3 separate regions of the Homo sapiens genome follow, and regions 1 and 2 are each linked to region 3. The links are contacts of gene promoters, found by promoter capture Hi-C in human tissues and cell types (Jung and others, 2019). All regions are on one chromosome and are shown on one strand. The core of a region is centred on a gene start or on the middle of the fragment in contact, and the rest is flanking DNA. Distances in the headings are between cores, read along the strand shown. Region 1 overlaps SUFU (SUFU negative regulator of hedgehog signaling). Region 2 holds the start of TRIM8 (tripartite motif containing 8). Region 3 holds the start of NOLC1 (nucleolar and coiled-body phosphoprotein 1).

Region 1 (3,604 bases), core at 604-3,103, 410 kb after region 3:
TCTTTGCCTCAACCTGATTCATCCTCTTTTCTGGTTGCTGTGGATCTGTGAAATATTTTCACTTTTATCAGTTAGTAATACTGACCAACTGTAAGACAAAACAACTCTTGATTTCTCTGCACTTTCCTAAGATTTTAGATTAATAGTTGAAAGATTGTGTTCCTACTGCACTGAAGAAAAACAGGTCAGTCCCTCAGAAATGAGTTTGTGCCCTAAAATTTAAGTGATTTAGCCAATATATAAATCTGGGTATTTTTAGGGAAAACTTAAACCCTGAGAGCAGAGGTTGGCAAGTACAGCCTGCAGGCCAAATCCTGATAATCACCTGTTTTTATAAGTAAAATTATATTGGAACATAGCCATACCCATCATGGATTACCTGGGCTTCTTTTGTGCCACAGCAGTGGAGTTGACTAGTTGTAACAAGAATGATATGGCCCTCAAAGCCTGAAATATTTTATCTCTGGCCGTTCACTGCAAAAGTCGGCCGACAACTGACTTAGAGAATGTTTTCCACTTCTGAATAACAACTCAGGTGGAGAGGTAGCCATCTCTGTGAGATTTCAGAGGTCCCGAGAAATGAGTTGCCTTAGCTGGGTCCTGTGCTCTGTGGCCTGTGGTAGAGGAATCAATTACAGTACCTAGAGTTTGTTGGGGTTGGGGGGTATGCATCTCCTGCTGTGTTGCTGAAGGATTTTCTTTAGCAAGTTCCTTTAGCTTCTATAGGTCTGTATCCTACATTGGAGAACTACATTAAATGACTTGAAACTCTTAGTAGAAAGAGTCTATTTATTGTTTTTGAGACGGAGTCTCGCTCTGTCGCCCAGGCTGGAGTGCAGTGGCGCGATCTCGGCTCACTGCAAGCTCCGCCTTCCAGGTTCACGGCATTCTCCTGCCTTAGCCTCCCGAGTAGCTGGGACTACAGGTGCCCGCCACCACGCACGGCTAATTTTTTTTGTATTTTTAGTAGAGATGGGGTTTCACCTTGTTAGCCAGGATGGTCTCTATCTCCTGACCTCGTGATCTACCCGCCTCGGCCTCCCAAAGTGCTGGGATTACAAGCGTGAGCCACCACGCCTGGCCGAAAGCATTTATTTGATACAGGCATTCAGCTAGGATAATTCACCCTCGGACAAGGTCTCTCATCTCTGGACCCCTGTGGAGTTTTAATTGGTTGGCTCTTTCAGCGGAATGTGGCCCTTTTGTCTCTAGCACTTGCAATTCAGGGATGCTTTCTGCAGAGGGCAGTGAAGCCCACTGGCAAGCAGAGATTGCCGCTGGAGAGTTAGGACAGTAGAACTAGCATCTCTGCAGGAGGTAAAGCACTTTGATGACTGGAAACTGCTCATGATAGAGTGTTCAGCGAAGAGGGCTGGAAAAGAACATGGCTGAGAGCAGGAATCCAAATGGCAGGTTGCCTGGGTTCAAATCCTAGTTGGGCCATGTAGGACCAAAATTGAACATCTCTAACAGTTGGTTACTTCATCTGTGAAACACAGGTAATAGTAATATCTACTTCATAATATAGGTAGTGTTCCTAATGCAGACCCTAGCATTATACATAGAAACAATCAATATTATTTATGGCTGGGTGCAGTGTCTCACGCCTGTAACCCCATTACTTTGGGAGGCTGAGATGGGTGGATCACCTGAGGTCAGGAATTCGAGACCAGCGGGGCCAACATGGTGAAACCACGTCTCTATTAAAAGTACAAAAATTAGGTCAGGCGCGGTAGCTCACGCCTATAATCCCAGCACTTTGGGAGGCCAAGGGGGCGGCTCACAGGGTCAGGAGTTCTAGACCAGCCTGGCCAACATAGTGAAACCCCGTCTCTACTAAAAAATACAAAAAATAAACCAGGCGTGGTGGCGGGCGCCTGTAATCCCAGCTACTTGGGAGGCTGAGGCAGGAGAATCGCCTGAACTTGGGAGGCGGAGGTTGCAGTGAGCCGAGATTATGCCATTGCACTCCAGCCCAGGCAATAATGTGAGACTCTGTCTCAAAAAAAAAAAAAAAAAAAAGTACAGAAATTAGCCGGGCATGGTGGTGGGCACCTGTATAGTCCCAGCTACTCAGGAGGCTGAGGCAGGAGAATCACTTGAACCCGGAAGGCGGAGGTTGCAGTGAGCCGAGATTGTGCCACTGCACTCCAGCCTGGGTGACAGAGCGACTCCATCTCAAAAAAAAAAAAAGTTTATGTTGTTGTTTAAGAAGCACATTGCAAAAGAAAAGGAAACAGGCTCTTTTTTTTTTTTTTTTTTTTTTTGAGACAGAGTCTCGCTGTGTTGCTCAGGCTGGAGTGCAGTGACACAATCTCGGCTCACTGCAACCTCTGCCTCCCGGGTTCATGCCATTCTCCTGCCTCAGCCTCCCTAGTAGCTGGAATTACAGGTGCCCACCACCATGCCCTGCTAATTTTTTGTATTTTTATTAGAGACGGGGTTTCACTGTGTTAGCCAGGAGGGTCTCGATCTCCTGACCTCGTGATCCGCCTGCCTCGGCCTCCCAAAGTGCTGGGATTACAGGCGTGAGCCACTGCGCCCCATCCAAAACCTGTCAAGAAAAAAAAAGGCCAGGGCAGTGGCTTTCTTACTCAGTTTCTTCATAGCTCTCTCAGTGGAAAATGACTGGCACCCGTAAGCCATACACAGTACTGCTTGAGATTCCCTGGGAGTGGGTCTCCACCGCCAGGCCTGTCTTCTTGCCTTGCAGGGCAGACATGAGGACAAGCTTGTTGTTTAGGTTCTTCCCAGGACTCAAGGACCAAGAGAACAGAATGGCCCTCCCTCGAGGGTTCTGATGAGGTTCAAGCAGCATTTCTGACTCCTCACAGAGCCCTCTCTCTGGACAGATGACAGTTGGAGCTTGAGCCAGGGGAGGAAGAGAAAAGGGAGGGAATTCGGGTGCTTTTAAAGAGGGATTGCAGCACACCCAGGCAGTGGATTGTTGTTTTGCTGGCATGCAGCAGGTAGACTCTGAAACAGCAGTGGGGGTCCTTCTCTGCCTTGTCCTGCTTGGCCCAGTGGAAGCTGCATACCTGGGGCACTGTGCTGGGCAGGGAACACATCTCTGGGAGAGGCTATAGCCCAATATCCCCTAGCCCCAGGCCTAGCTCCAGCAGCCTATGTTTGGCTTTGAAGATTTAGGAAGAACAGGACACTATCAACCTCCTGGGCCAACCGGGCATGTCTAGGTCCTCCTGTATTGAGTACCGTGGTGATCTGAACACAGGAAAACCTTGTCCTTTGCTTCTCTTTACTGGGCCACTCACATCACACATTCATTGTCTTCTGTCCTTGGCTGGTACACTTTTATTCCCCCAAACAAATATAACATTATTGTTTTCCCTAATTACAAAAAGGACATTAAAAAAATCCAGGCAACACTGAAAACATAAAGAAACCTTGTCGCAGAACAATGGGTAGAGTGGAGTTTCATTTTTACTTAAAAAAAAAAAAAAGTATGACTTTGATTATACATGCTGAAAAGAAAGTCTTAAAGACTGCATATCAGATGTTAACAGCAAATGTTAATAGCTGAGAAATGGGACTGATGGGAAAAGAGATTTTCATGTTTTACTTTATACATTTCTTTGTTGTTTGA
Region 2 (3,930 bases), core at 704-3,203, 490 kb after region 3:
CCGTTTCCCCACCCTGCCTGCCCCGCTCTGCTCCGAACCCATTGTATACGGCCGGCTGCGGACTCCCAGGCCGGGCCGTGGCGGGGGCCCCGGGACCCCCGAGTGCCCCTCCGGCTGGTCCCGCGGGCCGCGGCATCTCCGCCGCCGCCTTCCTCGCGGCGGCGGCGAGGGCGCCCTTTCCTCCCCGCGCGGGTGACGGGGACGCACCCCCACCCCGGGGCGCCCCTTCGCGGGGGGAGAGCCGGGCCCGAGCAAGTCGAGGCAGGAAAGGGCCGCCACGGACTGCCCGGCCCGCCGATCGTTTTTATTATCGAGATTATTATTAAAAGGGGGCGGGGACCCCAGGACGCGGGGGAGGGGCTGGATACGCAGGTATTTTTATTAAACAGATTATTCCTGAAATAATAATACGCGCAAGATGGCTGAAGGTGGCTGTGATGAGAGTGTTGGGGTTGGGATTTTTTTCTTCCTGTTTTTTCTTTTTTGATCTGAGGATAAAGCTCTGAGGCGACAGCGGCTGCGGAGACCCTGCCCGAAGCGCCCTCCCCTCCCTTGAGAAGCCGCGGGCAGACAGACGGACCTCGGACCGAGCAACGGGTGCGGGCCCGCCCCGGACGCGTCGCCTGGGCAGCAGCCGGGGACCGCGGGCTCTCGCCTTTCTGCCGACTTCTTCCAATTCTCATCTTCTTTTATTTTTTGGACAGGACCGGGGTGGGTGGAGCAGAGGTGGAGAGAAATCGGGACTTGGCATTTTCTCCCTCTCTCTCTCCTAATTTGTTGGAGGCCGCCAGCCCTCCCCTTGGAAAAAAAAAAATCCCACCAAAAAAAAAAAAAAAAGAATCAGGAGCGAGAGGACGCCGCGGGGCCCTCAGCGAGCGCGCCCAGACCCCGGCCGCCGCCGCGGAGCCCAAGATGGCTGGGCGCTGAGGGTGGCGGCTCGGCCTGGCCCCGCCGCCGCAGGCTGGCTCCGACCGCAGCCCCGAGCCTTCCAGGCCCCAGCAGAGGCCGAGAAGAAAAGAAAGTGGGGAGGAGGGGGCCGGGGGGGCGAAGGGGGAGGGCCGGGGGAGGGGAGGGGAGGGCCGGGAGCCGAGCCTCCTGTTCATTAGCAGTTGAGAAAAATTCCTTTCTAGTTTGATCAATCCTTGTTTTCCTCGGCAGAGCCCGGGCGCCCGCCCAGCGCGGAGACGGGCGCGCGGGGTCTCTCCGCGGCGGGGGCGCCGGGCCTCGGGGGAGCGCAGAAGTAGCCGCCCGGGGGTCAGGCCGGAGCGCCGCCGGGGCTTCTCCCTCCCTCCCTCGCCGGTTGCCTTTTTTTCCACTTCTCTCCCTCCCCCTTCCGTTTCTATTTGTGAAGGGAGGAGGAAGGCAGAGGCGGGCTGGTGTCTCTGGCCGGGGACTGGAATTTCATCTGAATGACTGCCCCTGCGCGCACGCAGCGCCCCGGAGTCGGCCCGCCCGCGCCCCGCAGCCCGCGCCCGGCCAGCCAGCCGGGGGACGCCTGCACCGTGGCCCGGGGACCGCCGGCCTGCCCCTCCCGCCCCGTCCGGATCTAGCAGCCCTCGGCGCGGCCGCCCTCGCCTCCTGGCCCCGCAGACCCCGGGCTCCGGCCCCTGCGAGGGAGGTGCGGCGCCGACGAGCCAGGCAGGAGCCGCCGCTGCCGCCGCCGCCGGAAGAAGTGTGCTGCTCCCAAGCTCCGTCTGCCGCGGGGCGCGCCCCAATGTCAGCCGCGGGGACGAGCGCAGGCCGCGGGCCGCCACTGCCCTAGCCGCGCCGACGGGGAGGCGGCCTCTTATATGGAATTTGGACCCCGGCGCTCCCCTCCAAGGCTGGAGTCCCGGCCGCGGCCCTGGCGCAGTCCGCCGCCTCCCGCTAGGCGCTCGGGAGGAGGAGGAGACGCAGCCCGCTGCGCGCGCGGCGTGAGGACCGCGGCTCCCTCCTCCGGGGGGCGGGCACGCGGAAGGCGCTGCTGACTGAGCGACCGTCGGGGCCGGCTGGGGCCGGAGCTCGGGGCTCGGTGGGCCTACAGCGGCTCCGGACGGACCCCCGGGGCTGGGGAGTCGGGGAGGCCTGCCCCGGCCCCCTGCCCGCGGCCGCCATGGCGGAGAATTGGAAGAACTGCTTCGAGGAGGAGCTCATCTGCCCTATCTGCCTGCACGTTTTCGTGGAGCCAGTGCAGCTGCCGTGCAAACACAACTTCTGCCGGGGCTGCATCGGCGAGGCGTGGGCCAAGGACAGCGGCCTCGTACGCTGCCCAGAGTGCAACCAGGCCTACAACCAGAAGCCGGGCCTGGAGAAGAACCTGAAGCTCACCAACATCGTGGAGAAGTTCAATGCCCTGCACGTGGAGAAGCCGCCGGCGGCGCTGCACTGCGTGTTCTGCCGCCGCGGCCCCCCGCTGCCCGCGCAGAAGGTCTGCCTGCGCTGCGAGGCGCCCTGCTGCCAGTCCCACGTGCAGACGCACCTGCAGCAGCCCTCCACCGCCCGCGGGCACCTCCTGGTGGAGGCGGACGACGTGCGGGCCTGGAGCTGCCCGCAGCACAACGCCTACCGCCTCTACCACTGCGAGGCCGAGCAGGTGGCCGTGTGCCAGTACTGCTGCTACTACAGCGGCGCGCATCAGGGACACTCGGTGTGCGACGTGGAGATCCGAAGGAATGAAATCCGGGCAAGTACCCTACGCGCGCGCGCGCACACACACACACACAGACACACAGTCCCTTCCTCTCTCCCGCCCCGGGACCACCCATCCCGACAGGCTGACTCTTGTGACATCAGGCCAGTGGCCCCTGGCCAAACTCTTCTCTGAAAGTTTGGGGACAGGGTCCTGGGAAGAAGGGCCCCGGGTCGCTACTTGGTACATTCTCGCACCTGTGCGCACAGGGTCCGTCTTCTGAGTGCTTTATGGGATTGGGGTGTGGGACCGTCAGGGGTAGAGTCTGGGTGTTGCTTTTCTGTGGTGCGCAGCTCCCTCCCCCAGTCTTGTTGCTGTAGGCCCTACGGGAAGTCACCGAGGCAGTGACCCCGGTCCTGCCTCTCCAGCTGCTGTTTATGTAATGAGTGTCCCGGTGCCGCTGCTGTGGCTGACATGATCCATGATGCTGGCATACCAATGAGGAAGTAAACAAAAGCAGCCATGTTAGTTTTCAGCGCTATTGGAAACACACTGGGGGGGGAGTGGGGGGAGTTTCCAGAGGGAGAGCAGAACTCCGGCCGTCTCTCTGGACAGGGCCTGGGCAGCCAGCGAGGCCCCGACAGCGGCTCCGCTATTTGGATTCCTCCCGAGAGCCGGCTCTCCCTGTGTGAGAATCGCTGCCCTGTGTGCCTGTGTGTCGCACGGGCCGCATGAACAAGCCTTCAAGTATCTGTCTTCATCATCCTGGCCCTTTCGCCTAGCACAGCCCTCTCGCCGCCCTCCCACATTTGGGGAGGGGAAGTGGAAGACGGAAAAAGAATCCTGTGGGTTTAAGGTTGAGCCGCCTTGAAATCTGGTTTCAGGCAGCTGGCTCCCCTGGGCTGCCGGCTGGGTGATTACGGAACCGCGTCCCCTCCCATTGTATACACCCTGCGGCCGCGGCCAATGTCAAACCGCCTCCCCCCTCAGGCCTCTGGGCCTGGTTTTGGAGCTGGACTGAGGCAATACTTCCGTCCCCTTCAGTGGAGGGGGCTCCTCCTAGGTCCCTCCCCAGTCCTCTGGCTTTCAGGGTTGAGTCATACCAAAATGAAGGGGTTGGCCTGACACCGAGGAGTCCTCTCTGAAGCCCCACCTTGGGGCCTGGGGCCTGGGTGTGATATCTGGGGGCTAGGCTGCACTCTGGTGGGACTGGGAGTGTCTCTGGGTGGGGATCCCTGGAGGTTAGTGGAGGCCAGTGCGGAGGCTGGCTATGAGGAAGCTCTGTTCAGGGCATGATTGGAGATGGGGCTGTTTCCTGTGTG
Region 3 (3,773 bases), core at 1,044-3,543:
CTACTCTAGGGGAGAGAGCTGCTAGTGAGATGACTGTTTTATAAAGAAATGGAAAAAAGTGAAATAAAAAATATGTTGAATCAGATTTTTTAAAAGGGGTATTTGTTTTTTTATAACAGGTATTGAAACAAGTTAACTTGCATTCCTATGTAAGATAGGAGGGGCTGAGGGGATCCCCAGTGTTTGGAACATAAGTCACTATGCAGACTAATAAACATCAACTAGAGAGAACTCCCAACTGCTGTTGTGCGTCTTTATATGGTGCTAATGCCAAATGTATTCACTTTTCCTATCTGAACATGGTCCAGGGACATGCCTCTCCCTGGTCAGGTGCAAAAATCCCACTGGATTTGAACCTTGGTTCCTCAGATGTATTGTCTAAAATGAGTCATTTAGGACAGTGCTTCTCAACTTTAAAGGGAATTTGAATCATCTAGCGATCTTTTTAGAATGTAGATTCTGACAATGGGATGATGATACTGGTCCAGGAAGGGATTTTGATAACAAGGACCTAGAGAAGCTCACACTTGTTCCAAAGAAAGGTTTTCTAAACTGCGACAGGTGTATACATTCATCATGTCAGTTATGTTCATCATTTTATAATAGCTTGAGCACACTGCATGGCACAGCAGGTGCTCAAATGTTTTAAATAATGCATGCATGTGGGTAGAACAGGAAGCGTGGGGAAGAGGGAACTGTGGAGTTTTTTGTTTCTGTTTTTGAATTTTTTTGTTTTGTTTTGGAGATGGAGTCTTGTTCTGTCTCCCAGGCTGGAGTGCAGTGGCACGATTTTGGCTTACTGCAACCTCTGCCTCCCGGGTTCAAGTGATTCTCCTGCCTCAGCTTCCTGAGTAGCTGGGATTACAGGCACCCGCCACCATGCCTGGCTAATTTTTTTTGTATTTTTAGTAGAGACAGGGTTTCACCATGTTGGCCAGGGCTGTTCTTGAACTCCTGACCTCAGGTGATCCACCCACCTTAGCCTCCCAAAGTGCTGAGATTACAGGCATGAACCACCGTGCCCAGCTTTGTTTTTGATTTTTGAGATAGGATCTCACTCTGTGGCCCAGGCTGGATTGCAGTGGCAGGATCATAGCTCATTGCAGCTTTGACCTCCCTGGCTCAGTTGATCCTCCTGCCCCAGCCTCCCAAGTAGCTGGGACCACAGGTGCATGCCACTACACCTGGCTAATTTTAAAAATTTTTTGTAGAGATAGGGGGGTTTCACTGTGTTGTCCAGGCTGGCCTCTTAACTCCTGGGCTCAAGGGATCCTCCCACCTAGGCCTTCCAAAGTGTTGAGATAACAGTTGTGAGCCACTATGCCTGGCCAATTTTATATAGGAGAGGGGGGTGTGTTCCCATGAGGATCCTTATCTTTCCTGAGCGGCATTAGTGGGAGGTAGCCAAGGGGTAGTGGGTAGGATTGAAGGGATTGCTAACTGCTAATATCTGGAATGTGGCAGAACTTGGAATTAACTTGGTAGGTCTGAGCATTGATACTGGAGTTACTCATGACAAAGGCATTGATACTGGAGTTACTCATGACAAAGGCAGAGTGTGAACTCTGATCCCGGAGGAAGAAGGGTTATTTTCAACAATCTCTTCAGCTTGAATAGATTGTTGCTGTGTGTGATTCAGGTTTGGTGCATGACACCTTTCCTCTTCATGGAGCTGACCTAAGGCGGAATATAAGGGAGATGGGAGGGGCAGCTTGGGAAATCAACACCTCCCACCCTCACGACGGATAACCCGAAGGATCTTCTGCAGCAGAGGCAGGAGTCTGGAGGCTGGGATGGTATCAGAAAGGGCCTCCCTGGGTATTGGAGGCAGTGAAGATGAAGGGCGAGAATCCATTGGCCGTGCCAGTACGCCATGGGGGCGGTTGGGAGATCTTGTAGAACAACTGTTCGAGCCCGCTTGTCCACTCATTACTCTGGAATCCGAGTCCCAGCAGGGGCGCGGGAAACCGCTGCTCTGAGAAAAGGTACCTCCCCCAGAAAGACTGCGCGGGAAGTCCCGAGTTTTCCCGCCACGCCGAGGGCGTGATCCCTGACGTCAGAGCTCCGCCTCCACAAGCTGGCGGCCGGTGGGCTCCGCCCTTAACCAAGATGGCGATACGCGTGGGACCGGAAAGAGTTTATAGATTTCCCGTCTACCCTACCTCTGAGGTGAAGGTGGGACTGCCCTGTGGAGCCCACCCTTTCCGTTATGCGCCCGCGCGGCGCAATGACGTAACACAGGCCCGCCCACTGCCCCTGTTGGGTTCCTGAGTCGTGCTGCGTCGACAACGGTAGTGACGCGTATTGCCTGGAGGATGGCGGACGCCGGCATTCGCCGCGTGGTTCCCAGCGACCTGTATCCCCTCGTGCTCGGCTTCCTGCGCGATAACCAACTCTCAGAGGTGGCCAATAAGTTCGCCAAAGCGACAGGAGCTGTGAGTTCCGGGCTTGGGGCGGGGACCGGGCTGAGATGACCACAAGGCTTCAGGCCCTGACGTGCTTAGGTTTCCAGGTGGGGAAGTCTGGGGGTCCGCCAGTCCAGTGTCTGCAAGGCCTTTACGCCGACCCCTCGGCAGTGACCAGAGAAAGCCTGCGGCCTCGGTCGCTTACCTTCCTCCATGTCTGAGTAGATATCGCTGAGTCTTGTTGCTTTTTTCTTGTGACCTGTGCAGCGGCGGCAGCGTGGGAGCCTCGTGGCCCCAAGCCACATGGCTGGCAGAGTGCAGCGGGGAGGTAGAGTCTTGTTCCACTGAGGACGTTGGTTCTTCGGCATCTTCTGGGGGGCTTTTCGTTGGGTGAGGCAAACCGTGATTTGACCTTAGCCTCAGTCACATTTACTGGGATTCAAAAGCAAGTGAAATTTCTTTAGAATGAAGTCTGGGATTTTCGTTTGTAAAGAAGAAAATGAATGAAAGTAGAAGCAGAGTTTTGTTTTGAGTTACACTGAGAATTGAGAGTCATCAACAGCCCTACCAAGTAGGCATAGTAGTGGGCTTGGAGCTTTGGCTAATTGAATCAAACAAACCTAGGTTTGGGACCAGGCTCTGCCACTTTTTAGATACGTGACCCGGGCAGTTTATTTAACCTTTCTGAGTCTTTCTACAGGGATGTCATCATCCACTTTATAGGATTTTTGTGAGTTTCAGTAAGATGATGTGTAAGAGTAGCAATCTCAGTGCTGGTACAGAGGAATCTTGTAAAAGTGAAAGCTGTACCATAGTTATGGCAATTTAGGATGCTCCAAACACATGTAAGAGTAAGAGAACCAGGAATGTGAAAGGTTTGTAATCTACATCAACGGACATTCCTGCATGGGAAGACACTTTGAGAGAGGAGAGAGGGGGGGTCTTCAGCAGGGATGATAGCATGACTAGGAAGGATGGCTTGCACTTTTAGCAGAATCAGGCTGCGAAAGCAAAGAATCAGATCAGCCTCAAAACTTCCTTAAGCTGGGACAGGCTGCCATGTGATCTAACTGCTTTCTTAATGAAACTGTTTAGAGTTGACTGTTAAGGAGACTGCGGAGAGTGCTTTCACAGTGGACTGGATGGAATTGGACATTTCAGAATTAGGATTCTTTTTTTTTTTTTTTTTTTTTTGAGACGGAGTCTCTGTTGCCCAGGCTGGAGTGCAATGGTGCGATCTCGGCTCATTGTAACCTCCGCCTCCCAAGTTCAAGTGATTATCCTGCCTCAGCCTCCCCAGTAGCTGGGATTACAGGCGCGTACCACCACGCCCGGCTAATTTTTGTATTTTTAGTAGAGATGAGGTTT

The links. Contacts are between HindIII fragments. The study calls those that stand out against the background at their distance.
Region 1: a contact is called between a fragment that was not itself captured here and the fragment with the promoter of NOLC1 in region 3, in 2 of the 25 tissues and cell types used here (dorsolateral prefrontal cortex and lymphoblastoid cells).
Region 2: the fragment with the promoter of TRIM8 here is called in contact with the fragment with the promoter of NOLC1 in region 3 in 1 of the 25 tissues and cell types used here (spleen).

What each region holds. Positions count from the first base shown.
Region 1 is chr10:102,564,763-102,568,366 of GRCh38, forward strand. The region is part of intron 3 of SUFU (SUFU negative regulator of hedgehog signaling); the gene reads left to right. Among named protein-coding and RNA genes, the nearest start is that of SUFU, 63 kb to the left of the region's middle. RefSeq lists an enhancer at 916-1,615. The HindIII fragment of the contact is 7,279 bases long and covers 1-3,604 here.
Region 2 is chr10:102,642,526-102,646,455 of GRCh38, forward strand. It overlaps TRIM8 (tripartite motif containing 8), which reads left to right and starts at 1,954. Exons shown (of 6, transcript NM_030912.3): 1 at 1,954-2,662. The coding sequence starts at 2,093. TRIM8-DT (TRIM8 divergent transcript) reads right to left here and starts at 664. Exons shown (of 1, transcript NR_186489.1): 1 at 267-664. RefSeq lists silencers at 1-283, 614-673, 944-1,043, 1,124-2,103, 3,389-3,605 and enhancers at 592-1,346, 1,347-2,102, 2,204-2,333, 3,114-3,213. The HindIII fragment of the contact is 20,827 bases long and covers 1-3,930 here.
Region 3 is chr10:102,150,096-102,153,868 of GRCh38, forward strand. NOLC1 (nucleolar and coiled-body phosphoprotein 1) reads left to right here and starts at 2,294. Exons shown (of 13, transcript NM_004741.5): 1 at 2,294-2,435. The coding sequence starts at 2,316. PPRC1 (PPARG related coactivator 1) reads left to right here. Exons shown (of 14, transcript NM_015062.5): 14 at 1-238. RefSeq lists enhancers at 1,780-2,979, 1,885-2,184, 2,355-2,404. The HindIII fragment of the contact is 9,767 bases long and covers 1-3,773 here.